Regions from separate parts of the Homo sapiens genome. Here region 1 is linked to region 2. The links are contacts of gene promoters, found by promoter capture Hi-C in human tissues and cell types (Jung and others, 2019). All regions are on one chromosome and are shown on one strand. Each heading gives the region's core, a stretch centred on a gene start or on the middle of the fragment in contact. The rest is flanking DNA. Distances are from core to core; before and after follow the strand shown.

What was found. Contacts are between HindIII fragments. The study calls those that stand out against the background at their distance.
Region 1: a fragment that was not itself captured here is called in contact with the fragment with the promoter of ARMC9 in region 2 in 2 of the 25 tissues and cell types used here (IMR-90 fibroblasts and adrenal gland).

The regions. Positions count from the first base shown.
Region 1 is chr2:231,270,038-231,276,006 of GRCh38, reverse strand. ARMC9 (armadillo repeat containing 9) reads right to left here. Exons shown (of 25, transcript NM_001352754.2): 13 at 4,935-5,025; 14 at 2,929-3,052. Among named protein-coding and RNA genes, the nearest start is that of ARMC9, 74 kb to the right of the region's middle. The HindIII fragment of the contact is 4,844 bases long and covers 1-4,632 here.
Region 2 is chr2:231,196,705-231,203,380 of GRCh38, reverse strand. ARMC9 (armadillo repeat containing 9) reads right to left here and starts at 4,750. Exons shown (of 25, transcript NM_001352754.2): 1 at 4,683-4,750. RefSeq lists a silencer at 4,605-4,944. The HindIII fragment of the contact is 14,859 bases long and covers 1-6,676 here.

The sequences.
Region 1 (5,969 bases), core at 961-3,460, 75 kb before region 2:
ACAGGACCATAGAAATACTTCTTTGACAAATAGGTTTTTTGTTTTTTTTTCCTGAGACGGAGTTTTGCTCTTATTGCCCAGGCTGGAGTGCAATGGCACGATCTCGGCTCACCGCAACCTCCGCCTCCTGGGTTCAAGTGATTCTCTTGCCTCAGCCTCCCAAGTAGCTGGGATTACAGGCATGCGCCACCACACCCAGCTAATTTTGTATTTTTAGTAGAGCTAGGGTTTCTTCATGTTGGCCAGGCTGGTCTCGAACTCCCAACCTCAGCTGATCTGCCTGCCTCAACCTTCCAAAGTGCTGGGATTACAGGCGTGAGCCACCGTGCCCAGCTGACAAATAGATTTTTACCTAAACGCTCTATAATCCAGCTCTAGGCACTCTGAGCTGTATAAAAATAAAGAAAACAAGGAGGAGCAAAAGCCTAGCTTAACATCACTTTGATTCACATTTCTATAGAGTAAGGGTAGTTTAATGACCTGGTTAATGCAAATTATAAGGAATGATTTTCCACCCAAAGTCCAGGTGTAGAATCTTACAAAATCCAATACCCCATCAAAATGTGTGATGGTGAATGTCATCAGGTTAGCTTTAAGAATTGCTGAGACTAAGTGTGGTATCATTATGAGATGCCATCTGGATTAGTAGAAAACTGACATGCCACAGAGAAGCCAGCTCTGCACATCTCCGGATGCGCAGGTTATGGTGAAACCACCACTCAGGACAGAACAGCAGAACCAGTTATCCGTTCATCCTGTTCTTAAACACTACACTGACCCAATCAGGGTGGCTTATTAGAATACAGTGAAGACTGCGCTCTCTTGGTAACTAGCTACCTTCTTCATTTATTGCAGAGACTCTGGAAAACTGCAAAAAGGTTAAGCACATTTACAGAACAAAAAAGCTTAAATTAACACTTAGAGGAAAAGATAAACAGGCAGTAAACATTTGCATTACCAGGAGGAAGTATTTTTTTCACCATATCTTGTATCTGTTACTTAACTATAGTTATTGAATTTCTAAAAACTTCCCCAAAGCGATCAACATGGAGCAAAGTTCTCTCTATAAACAAAAAGAAATGAAGTGTTTGTATGCTCTGAGGAAGTAATGACTCTGCAGCACTTACAGTTCTTTTCGATTCATATAGTTAGAACAAAGAATTTTCATTGGCAGGGAGCTGGCAAATGGTAGATACAAATACCTATCCCTTCCCCCACTAAAAACACACATGCTTAGACCATTTCACTTTGTAGGCTTCTGGTTATTTGTGAGTCAGTCAAATGTAAACCACATTTGATGGGAAGAAAGTGTGTTCAGAAGAGGACCGACAGAAAAAAGTTGAAGACTCCAGGGACTAGAGTTCTCAAGAAAGTCAAAGAGAACTTGAGGTGATCATGAGAGAATAAAAACTCTGAAAAAATTACCATATGTCCCAACAGTTCCTCTCCTAGATGCCGATCCACGAGAAAAAGAAACATATGTCCACACGAAGACTTGTGCTGAAGCATTCATGGCAGCATTATGCATATTGGCCAAAAATGCAAACAACTCAAATGCCAATCAACTGAAGGACAAACAAAATGTGGTGTAGGCCGGGCGCGGTGGCTCACACCTGTAATCCCAGCACTTTGGGAGGCCGAGGCGGGTGGATCACAAGGTTAGGAGTTCGAGACCAGACTCACCAGCATGGTGAAACCCCATCTCTACTAAAAATACAAAAATTAGCCGGGTGTGGTGGTGTGCGCCTGTAATCCCAGCTACCCAGGAGTTTGAGGCAGGAGAATTGGTTGAACCCGGGAGGCGGAGGTTGCAGTGAGCCAAGATTGCGCCACTGCACTCCAGTCTGGGTGACAGAGTGAGACTCCATCTCAAAAACAAACAAACAATATGATGTAGCCATAATGGAGTACATATTCAGCCACAAAAGGAATGAGGCCCTGACACATGCTGCTACATGGACAAACCTTGCAAACGCGATGCTAAGTGAGAGAAGCCAGTCACAAAAGAGTGCACACTACATGATTCCATTTATATGAAACGTCCAGTACAAGTCAATCGACAGAAAGCAGATTTGTGGCTACCGGGGACTGGGGGTAGGAATGAGGAGTGACTGTAAATGGGTATGAGGTTTCTTTTTGTGGTGATGGAAATGTGCTAAACCTGGATTGTGGTGATGACTGCACAACTCTGTAAATACACTAAAAATCCTTCAATTGTATGCTTAATATGGGGGAATATTATGGTGTGTAAATACATCTCAACAAAACTGTAAACTAAAAAGGAACCTACGGGGCCGGGTGCGGTGACTCACGCCTGTAATTCCAGCACTTTGGGGGGCTGAGGTGGGCGGATCACCTGAGGTCAGGAGTTCGAGACCAGACTGGCCAACATGGTAAAATCCTGTCTCTACTAGAAATACAGAAATTAGCCTGGCCCCATTGGTTCCAAGTCATGACGGTCTAGGCTGATCCCATGGGGTGGGCTGCTGGGATCATGGACAAGGTCAGGAGGCCCTAACCCTGACTTCCACAGAACTGCCCTTGACACTCTGCTGGGATGTGCATTCATGTGTGCAGCTCCCACAGGGGACTGGAAGTAACTTGAGGGCTGAGGCTCTATCAGGTCTGATTCATGTGTCTGTCTCTAAGCCCTGCACATGCCCTGAGACACAATCCTGCATGGCTGGCACTCGATAATGTCCATTAGGAAAATCCAATGATGCTTTGAAAATGTCTTCCTCCATCCCCAGCAGCCTTGCGCAGGATAGTTTAGTGGATTACAGATAAGCTTTCTAGCTCTGTCTTAGAAAGTCATCCAACCTCTCCAAAGTGTAGTGGAAAAATACCATCTGCCTCCTGGGTTGCCATGGGAATTTTAACTCAATCTGATCTCACAGGAGACACCGTGACCTATTGCACAGTCGTTACCTGAGACTGAACTTCTGCAGGGCCCCAAGAACATTCTCCCTGGTGATGATATCCTTGTCCTCCTCCTTCAGCCTTCCCTCCAGCATCTGCAGCACCTTTGTGTTCTGGGCAAGGTAGAGGCGACCTGATAATACACCAGAGATGAAACAGGTGAAAGACAGAAATAATTTATCTGGTATGCTACAAAACCACTTTCCACGAAAACTTACTTTGCATATAACACAGTAGAGTTTGGGTAATTTTATGTTCTAAAAAACTTACTGGGCAGGGCGCGGTGGCTCACGCCTGTAATCCTAGCAGTTTGGGAAGCCAAGGCAGGCAGATCACCTGAGGCCAGGAGTTTGAGACCAGCCTGGCCAACATGGTGAAACCCCGTCTCTATTAAAAATACAAAAATTAGCTGGGTGTGGTGGCAGATGCCTGTAATCCCAGCTACTCGGGAGGCTGAGGCAGGAGAATTGCTAGACCCCAGGAGGCAGGTTGCAGTGAGCCTGAGATCGTGCCACCACACTCTAGCCTGAATGACGGAGCGAGACTCCATCTCAAAACAAACAAACAAACAAACAAACAAACAAACACTTACTGGTTGTGCAAGGTGGCTCACGCCTGTAACCCTAGCACTTTGGGAGGCTGAGGCAGGTAGACTGTTTGAGCCGAGGCGTTGGAGACCAGCCTGGGCAACAGGGCGTAACCTCATCTCTATAAAAACTAAGGAACATTAGCCAGGTATGATGATGCACACCTGTTGATCCCGCTAATTGGGGGGCTGAGGCGCGAGGAGTATTCCTTGAGCCCAGGTGGTTGAGGCTACAGTGAGCCGAGATCATGCCACTGTACTCCAGTCTGGTTGACAAAGTGAGACTCTCTCAAAAAAAAAAAAAAAAAAAAAAACCAAACACACACACACACACAAAACCCCCACAAAACTTATTAAAACTTATTAAAAGATATTTCTTCTAAACGTTAAACGTTGGTTTTATTCAATGAAATATCTGGTGACTAGAAAAACCACTCTTCTTGTGAGCTAAACATAATTCATTGCTGTGTTCTTGTGGGGAGCATTGTCCTTTTTTTTCCATGAAATCCTGAACCCAACAGTCAGATCTACAAAGAGAAATGAGGGGTAATGTGTGTGTTATGAGCCCTTAAGTCTTCACAACAGAGGCAGCCAAGGAATGCTTCCATACACACTCTCTGTACAAGGCCTGGAGAAGAAGCAGGAAGCCACACCTGGGACCCTGTAATAAGCCCAGAATGGTCCCTAGCCTGTTGTGGACTTCTGAATGGATATGGAAGATGTTAATTTCAGACATAAGTTTCAACAGTATTATTATATGAATGGTCCTCAGTAACACATCCTGGCTTATCATAAATGTCTGCCAAATGGATGGAAGAACGAATGAACAAATGAACAAAGTTTTGGAGTATCATATATTCATAATTTGAAAACTCCCTTTATTCACATTATAAAGAGCTCAAATAAATAAGAACTTACGGAAGATAATGGCACTTTGCAAAATCATTTTAAATTCAGTTATGGGGGCATGTTATTTTCAGAGTTTTCAAATCCTTTGATTTAAGAGGTCATAGTCTTCTGAAGGAAATGGTGCAGTGTTTATTGGAGTCTGCTTTGTTTCGCTAAGCTTATTTTGCCGTAATTGTTTCACTTATTTTGCCTTAAGTAGAAAATTATAGAAGATGCATTCATTACCTGTGATATACTTGAAAGCAATATAAAATGTTACTATGTTACAAAACCAGAAAGCTTTATAAAATAAAACCGGGAGGTTTACAAAATAAACCCCAAAAACTGTCCAAATGTGCTCTGATATAAACTAAAGCAATATGACAACAATTAATTTTCACAAAAGACCTTAGATGAATTAAACGGTAACAAACTGAGGAAGCGTCATCTCTAAGAAACTTGGGAGGAACGCTCATTTTCAAAGGAAAAAGCACATCAATATGACCTAGCTCTTATCTTTGAAGCAAAGCTGATGTCTCACCTTCTGCCAGTGACGCAAAAGCATTGATGAGCCTGGCCATGTACTGCCGCACCACGTCGCTCGTGGAGTGCAGCAACTGAAGCACACTCCTCTGGGGGAAAACGTCAAGAGGAAAAACAAGGTTAAGAACACGGAGAGATAAACACACGCCTCCTCTTCGGGTCTGGTAGTTCTCTTCCTCTGCCTGAATTTATTAGAGGTGAAATAAACAGACTAAAGCCAAACATTTCATCTGGAATCCTTGTTTTCCAACTGAAATTTGATGAGACTTGGCAAAAATAAGTTAGTCAGACTTCCAAATTAAATGAATTAATTACACGAAGCCCTCAGAACAGTGACTGGCGCGAGGGAAGCAGTCCTGTTTGCTGTTACCGTTGCGGCTGTTTTCCAGGTTAGAATGGCAGATCCAAGACACATGACTAATTTGGCTCCCTCTAAGCCACAGTAAAACTACAATAAATGGACTGTTAAAAAAGATAATTCCCAAGGACAGAGAGAACAGCACGAGAAACGATAACGCCACAATTCTGGAAGTGGGACTGCAGCATGGCAAGAGGCTTAGCAGGCTCAAGAAGGCCAAATCTCAAGGCAGCAACGGGCACTGTGGAATTACCCAATTTCCATTACTCACTCCTCAAAGCACTTAAGAGCTGAAGAAAAATAAAGACGAATGAATTAAAGTTGTTCAAGAAGCACTTGGATCCCACTCATGTGACTCCTGCACACCTCTCAGCACAGGGCTGGGGAGAGGGTGTTCCCTTGTGAGGGAGACACAAAGGGTCTGTGGATCTGGGACACCAGGCAGAGGAGAGCAAGGCTTGCCGGGGTTCTAGAACAAAATGGAGAGGGGGGTTAGTGTCTAAATGCAGAATGAATGTGGAACAGAGGGCCACCCCAAAACTTGGCTCCCAGGACCCTGGCAACCAGACCTTTGCCCTCTAGGCCTGAGATTAGAAGACTATTCTCACAGTGAAATGACCAGCCCACGGGGAAAGAATTAGAGACCGTGAAATCAGAGGTTCCCAGCAAACGGCC
Region 2 (6,676 bases), core at 3,501-6,000:
TGCAGACCAGTTAGTTGTGGGACATGAGGGGAAGAAGGGAAGGAAGAACCCTGGGATCTGAGCAGCTGGCCGAAGAGTATGTGATTTGCTGAGTCAACGAAAACCTGGGGAAGGACTGTTTTGAGGTCAAACCAAGAGCTCTGTTTTGGCTATAAGTCTGAGCTGCCTGTTAGACATTCCAGTGGAGGTTCCGAAATGGTCAGTGGGTATTGTAAGAACCAAAGAAAGAGGAGAGAGGAGAGAAACACGAAGGGTGGCTCGACAGTCAACAGGTTTATTTCAAACCTGGGAGGGACTTCCGACCGAGTTAGGTCAGAGCCACACTCTCCTACAGACTAAGAGTTTTTAAGGATTCAGGGTGGGAGAGTTTATCAAAGGCTTGAACTGTTTCTGTGTCTCTCTGTTGTGCTTATCTGGGAGGGAGAGTTGTGTGTCTGTTCCTATACAACTTTCTGCAGCTGCAGGCATACCCCCCAAGTCTGCTTTTAGCTTCCCTTAGTGCACCTGAAGGGAACAGAATGTCCTTATTAAGGCCCACTGTTATACTGAGGCCCATTGTAAGAGGGTGAAGTTTGGCCGTTACCCAGGAAACAAACCTGTTGACTGTCAAGTCACCCTTCGTGTTTCTCTCCTCTTTCTTTAATTCTTACAGATATATGAGCCTGGAGTTTAAGGGAGAAGCAGGAACGGCATTCAGAGGGATAGCAGAGAATATGGGTGCTGAGCAAAGACACAGATTTAGTGATTAGAAGTGAAACAGGCTGGGTGCAGTGGCTCACACCTGTAATCTTGGCACTTTGGGACACCAAGGCAGGCAGATCACTTGAGCTCATGAGTTCGAGACCAGCCTGGGCAACGTGGTGAAACCTCATCTCTACAGAAATACAAAAATTAGCTGGGTGTGGTGGTGTGTGCCTGTAATCCCAGCTACTGGGGAGGATGAGACAGGAGGATCACTTGAACCAGGAAGGTCAAGGCTGTAGTGAGCCGGGATCACGCCATGGCACTCCAGCCTAGGTGACAAAGTAAGACCCTGTCTCAAAAAAAAAAAAAAAAAAAAAGTGAAACAAGAAACAAGATCAGCTGGGCACGGTGGCTCACGCCTGTAATCCCAGCACTTTGGGAGGCCAAGGCAGGCAGATCGCCTGATGCTGGGAGTTCAAGACCAGCCTGACCAGCATGGTAAAACCCCATCTCTACTAAAAATACAAAAATTAGCCGGGTGTGGTGGCAGGCACCTGTAATCCCAGCTACTCTGGAAGCTGAGGCAGGAGAATCGCTTGAACCCAGGAAGTGGAGGTTGCAATGAGCCGAGATCGTGCCATTGCACTCCATCCTGGGCAACAGAGTGAGACTCTGTCAAAAAAAAAAAAAAAAGAAAGAAAGAAAAAAGGTCATCGGCTGCAAGTAAGAAGCATGGTGACAGTTCGAAGAGAAGGGAGAGTGGGAACGGAAGGGAGGGTGGGAACCAAAGCGACTACAGCAACATGGCAGGGTTGCTGGTATTATAGTCCATTTAAGATCTCTGCACTTGAATCTAAAATGGAATCAGTCTGCACAGTTTTGCAGCTCTTCTCCAGGCACTTTCAGCTATCTGAGTTAGGTTAACCAATGTGAGAGGTTCTTCTAGAAGAGAGAGGAAAGGGAAAACAGTACAACCACGATGGGACACTGGAACTAATCAGGTTAAGAATGGGGGAGGGGAACACACATAAGGCGGCTGCAGAGCAGTGAGGAAGCAGTGGGGTCTGAGACCTGCTGAAGGAGGCACATTCCAGTGAGTGTGAAAGATGGAAAGGAGTGGGCAGAGAGTGGGACAGATGCCTGAAGGCAAGACTTTGAAGGTGACTAGTACTAAAAAGCTCCCGACCACGGGAGTGGGCAGATGAGGAGGATGGAGGAAAGAGACGCCTGCAAGTAAGGAGGATGAAGAAACTGGAGGGGCCAGGATGTGGAAACCCCCAAAAGTGAAGTAAAAGAGATGAAGGGATAGGCAGCCAGCCGGGTGCTGGAGGCTCCAAGGGAACTGGAGAGACTTGCCCTGGGAAGTGGCTACCTCAGGGAGGGCTGGCAAGGGGTATGGCATCTGCCATGTGCTTCAAAGGAGCTGGGGTTTGTGAAGGAGTGGGTAGTGATCTGGAAGCAGTAATGAGGAGCAGGGAGGACACCTCCCCATGCACCACACCAGCCCTGCCAGATGCAAAAGGGGAGAGAAGAAAGGCAGCTGCTCCTGGGGGACACCCACCTCTCCAGCCTTTTTCTGGACCATGCCTCCAATCCATCCACCTCCCCCTACCTGATCCCTCTCCTTGCTCCCTTCCACCAATCCCACACTGGACCCTGCCAACAGCGAACTCCTGGCCATTCCCCCATGCAACAAGCTCTTCCAGGATCCTAAGCCTGTGGTTGATGTATGCTCTGCCCCCCCAGGCAAACATGACTCATGATTCTAAGCCAAGCCAGATTTAATCTCTTTTCAAGAAGTCTTCCATGAAAAACCCCTCCCTTCTTTCCCTACCAAGGCTTTTTTTTTTTTTTCTTTTTCTGAGATGGAGTTTAGCTCTGTTGCCCAGGCTGGAGTGCAGTGGCGGGATCTCGGCTCACTGCAACCTCCACCTCCTGGGTTCAAGTGATTCTCCCACCTCAGCCTCCCAAGTAGCTGGGGTTATAGGCATGCGCCATGACGCCCAGCTAATTTTGTTGTTTTGAGATGGAGTTTCACTTTTGCCGCCCAGGCTGGAGTGCAAAGGTGCAATCTGGCTCACTGCAACCTCTGCCTCCCAGGTTCAAGTGATTCTCCTGCCTCAGCCTCCCAAGTATATGGGATTACAGGCGTCCGCCACCAACGCCCAGCTAATTTTTGTATTTTTAGTAGAGACAGGGTTTCACCAGGTTGGCCAGGCTGGTCTTGAACTCCTGACCTCAAGCGATTCACCCACCCAAAGTGCAGGGATTACAGGCATGAGCCACTGCACCTGGCACTTCTTATAACCCTGTTCACAAAGACAGGGAGCTGTATTTCAACTTCATATCCCCAGAACCTAACAGAGTGTCTAGTAAGCAAGAAAGGTACTCAAGGCATATAATGAATAAATGAAGCCGGAGCTGAGGGGATGTCATTTTAAAGGCCCTGGAACGGGAAAAGTGAGTTTCTGAGAATTTGAAACCTTGAGGCCAACCTCAAGGCCTTTGCGCATATTACTCTCTCCGCCTAGAACACTCTTCCCTCTCTTCACCTGGTTAACCACTGTGCCTAATAAACATCACCTCCTTAGAGTAGACCTCCCTAAGCCGTTTAAATAGTATCTGCTGTGATCAACTGTCATTGAATGTGAGTGCTGCTGGGTATCCTATTACTCAACATTCTTAGAAATTACAGAATTGGCCAGGCACAGTGGCTCACACCTGTAATCCCAACACTTTGGGAGGCTGAGGCAGGCGGATCACCTGAGGTCAGGAGTTCGAGACCAGCCTGATCAACATGGTGGAACCCCATCTCTACTAAAAATACAAAAATTAGCCGGGCGTGGTGGCGTCTGCACCTGTAATCCCAGCTACCAGGGAGGCTGAGGCAAGAGAATCGCTTGAACCCAGGAGGTGGAGGTTGCAGTGAGCCGAGATCATGCCACTCCACTCCAGCCTGAGCGACAGGGAAAGACTCCGTCTCAAAAAAAGGAAAAGAAAAAGAAATTACAGAATTTTCTCTAAACTTTTATATCATAATAGGTATCATTTATTGAAGGTATATGGTATGCCAGGCAATGTGCAAAATGTTTTACATTTAACCTTCATAGTAAACCTGACAGGTGAATATAGTTTATATTTTCCCATTCCAGATGAGGCAATTTGAGGCCCAGGAAGTCTGACACACTCCCAACAGCCACAGTAAGTGACTAAGCGGCTGAAAAGAACCACTACACAGTATTTCCCAAAGTCTGGACCACCTAAATCAGAATCAGCTGGCACGCTTGTGCAAATGAAAATTCCTGCCTCCACCCTGGTCTTACTGAACACCGTGGCAGGCACCATGCCCAGAAATCTGCCTTTTAAACAAGCTCCCTGAGTGACTTTTACACACTCTCAAGTTTGAGAACCAGTGCTCTCCTTTATGCGGAAACTAAGAAAAACTTTTCCAGTTACATTTGGGGATTGCAGCGGCAGCTTTTGAATTCCTATATAAGAAAGATTTAGGGCCCACAAACGGGTGGGATTATGGGATTTGTATGGAAGCCGAATCTGCATAGCACGCATCCTGTTTTTCCTAAGATTAGGTGAAGTCTGGACTTCAACTGGGTGCCTCAGGAACGCGGCTAGCAGATGGAGATTATCAGGGGGATCTAAATCCCGGATAACCCGCTCGCGCCGCCACCACCAGCTGGATGGCTTGAGGGACCCCCTCCAAGTATGGCCCACTGCAGCAAAGATCAGGGACTACTTGCGGGAAGCAGCTGGGCCTGTCCTTTCTTGGGATGTCCAGGCGGCCGCCTCGGCCCTTGCCGAAGAAAGATCCCTGGACCGCAGGCGAGAAGTGGTAGCATCCGGCGGCGGCGGAGCGGGCGCGTCGGGTTTTTCCTCGGAACAAGAGGTCCGCAGAGCCTCGGCCCTCCAAACGCACCGCTGCTCCTCCCAGCACCAGGACGGCGGGCGGAGGGTGGCCCGGCTGCATCCGGGGACGCGCTTACCTGCTGCTCGGCCGCGGACACTCGCGCTATCCCAGCCCGGCCGCCACCTCCGCAGCCGTCACCCGGGCAACCGCCGCCGCCACCCCGGCGTCACGTGGGGGCGGCGCAGCCAATCGCGCGGGGCGCCGCCGACGCGGAGCAGCCTGGGAGGGAAGGTGGGCGACCCCGAAACTTCCTGGCGGCGGAAGTGAGGGTCCACAGCCCAGCAGTGGTGAAGGTTCACGCGCTGGATGACCGCGTCTTCTGTGGTCCTCTCCACCACTCCACTTTCGTTCGTTCATTCATTCGTTCATTTCCCTTTCGTTGCGCCAGTCGCTGCGCCGGCTCTCGGGATGAGCCGGAGCAGGCTCAACCCCTTGTCTCAAGGAGCTCGTGGTCGCGTAGAGAACACAAACTAGGACAGTGTGGTGTCCGTGGGGAAAGAGTCAGGCATGGTTATTCCCATCTTAAAGGAGGGACCTGGGGCCACCTTAGAACCAAAAGTGACGCCCAAGATGTGCATTAAAGCTCCGGGGACCAGGGTCCCGCCCCACTGCAGCGGTTTCCAAGGATTTCAGAGAAACTTTTTGTTTTCCATGTCAAATGTGGGCTATTAAAAATAAATCAGGAGCACACGTCTTCCCTCTCTTTGCACCTGATGCTTTTGAACTGAAGTTCATCAGCACTGAATGAGCACTTGCTAGTCACCCAACTTTGTGCTGGAGGGTGAAGAGATGGCCATGGATAGAAAATCCCTCCCCTCCAGGCGTTGAGATTCCGTGGGAGTCTCTCGTTGCCACCTCAGTGTTTCCACCTCCATGCTTCCAAGAAGGAGGAGGCTACCAGGGCCAGAGACAGGGAATGGGGCACGGAGAAGGTAGGTCAGCTCGCCTTTGAAGAAGCCCTAAGATGGGCTGTGGCCACCACTTCCCCAGTCCCCAACCCTGCCAGTGGATTGTCTTCCAAAAGAAAAAAAGCTGTATTTAGTAGAAGAGAGCCCTATCTTCTGTCCAGGTAATATGGATTGAAAATAAATCTTCAATCCATGGCCATAATATTTATCGTCAACACAACTGTATGCCGGGAGATGCCAGACAAAATATAGAACACACAGTTAAATGTAAATTTTAGATAATGTTTTAGTGTAAGTAAATCCCAAAAACTGCTTCATTTTATTGTGCATGTAGGATGTTATATTGTTCTGTATTTTTGTTTGCAAAACGTGCAGCCTATATGTGTGCCCAGCATTGTGCTAAGTGAATCATATAGATTGTTTTCTTTAGTTCTCACACCAGGCCCGGCACGGTGGCTCACACCTGTAATCCCAGCACTTGGGAGGCCAAGGCAGATGGATCACCTAAGGTCACAAGTTTCAGACCAGCCTGGCCAACATGGTGAAACCTGTCTCTACTAAAAATACAAAAATTAGCTGGGCGTATTGGCATGTGCCTGTAGTCCCAGCCACTCGGGAAGCTGAGGCAGGAGAATCCTTGAACCCGGAAGATGGAGGTTTCAGTGAGCCGAGATCACGCCACTGTACTCCAGCCTGGGCAACAGAGTGAGACTCTGTCTCAAAAAAAAAAAAGTTTTTAATTCTCACACCACATCTATGAGATGAATAATATTTTCAGCATTTTACTGATTGACAATGTTGTAATTAACCTGAGCTGTGTGCTCTTAGAAAACAGCCACAGTTAAGAAATCTCACCCACGCACCCCCAAACCTTTTGTTTTCTAAAATCCTCCACACTTTTGTGTTCTGGGAAGTAGCTTATCAGAAAGAACTACCCTTCCACATATGACTTCATCAGACCCACAGTCCTGTCTTTCTCATGCCTCCCATATGATGCACGGATGACCCCCTTGTTTACCTGTGACAAGGACAAATGCAGACCTTTTCCCTTCTGCCTGAGTCTGCCGGCAAGGCCAAGGACAGACTTTTCAGCTTCTCATTCTTTGTCTCATGGTTGATTAGCTGAGATTAGAGCTGTCTGTTTTGTCTTTGGCAAGATGAA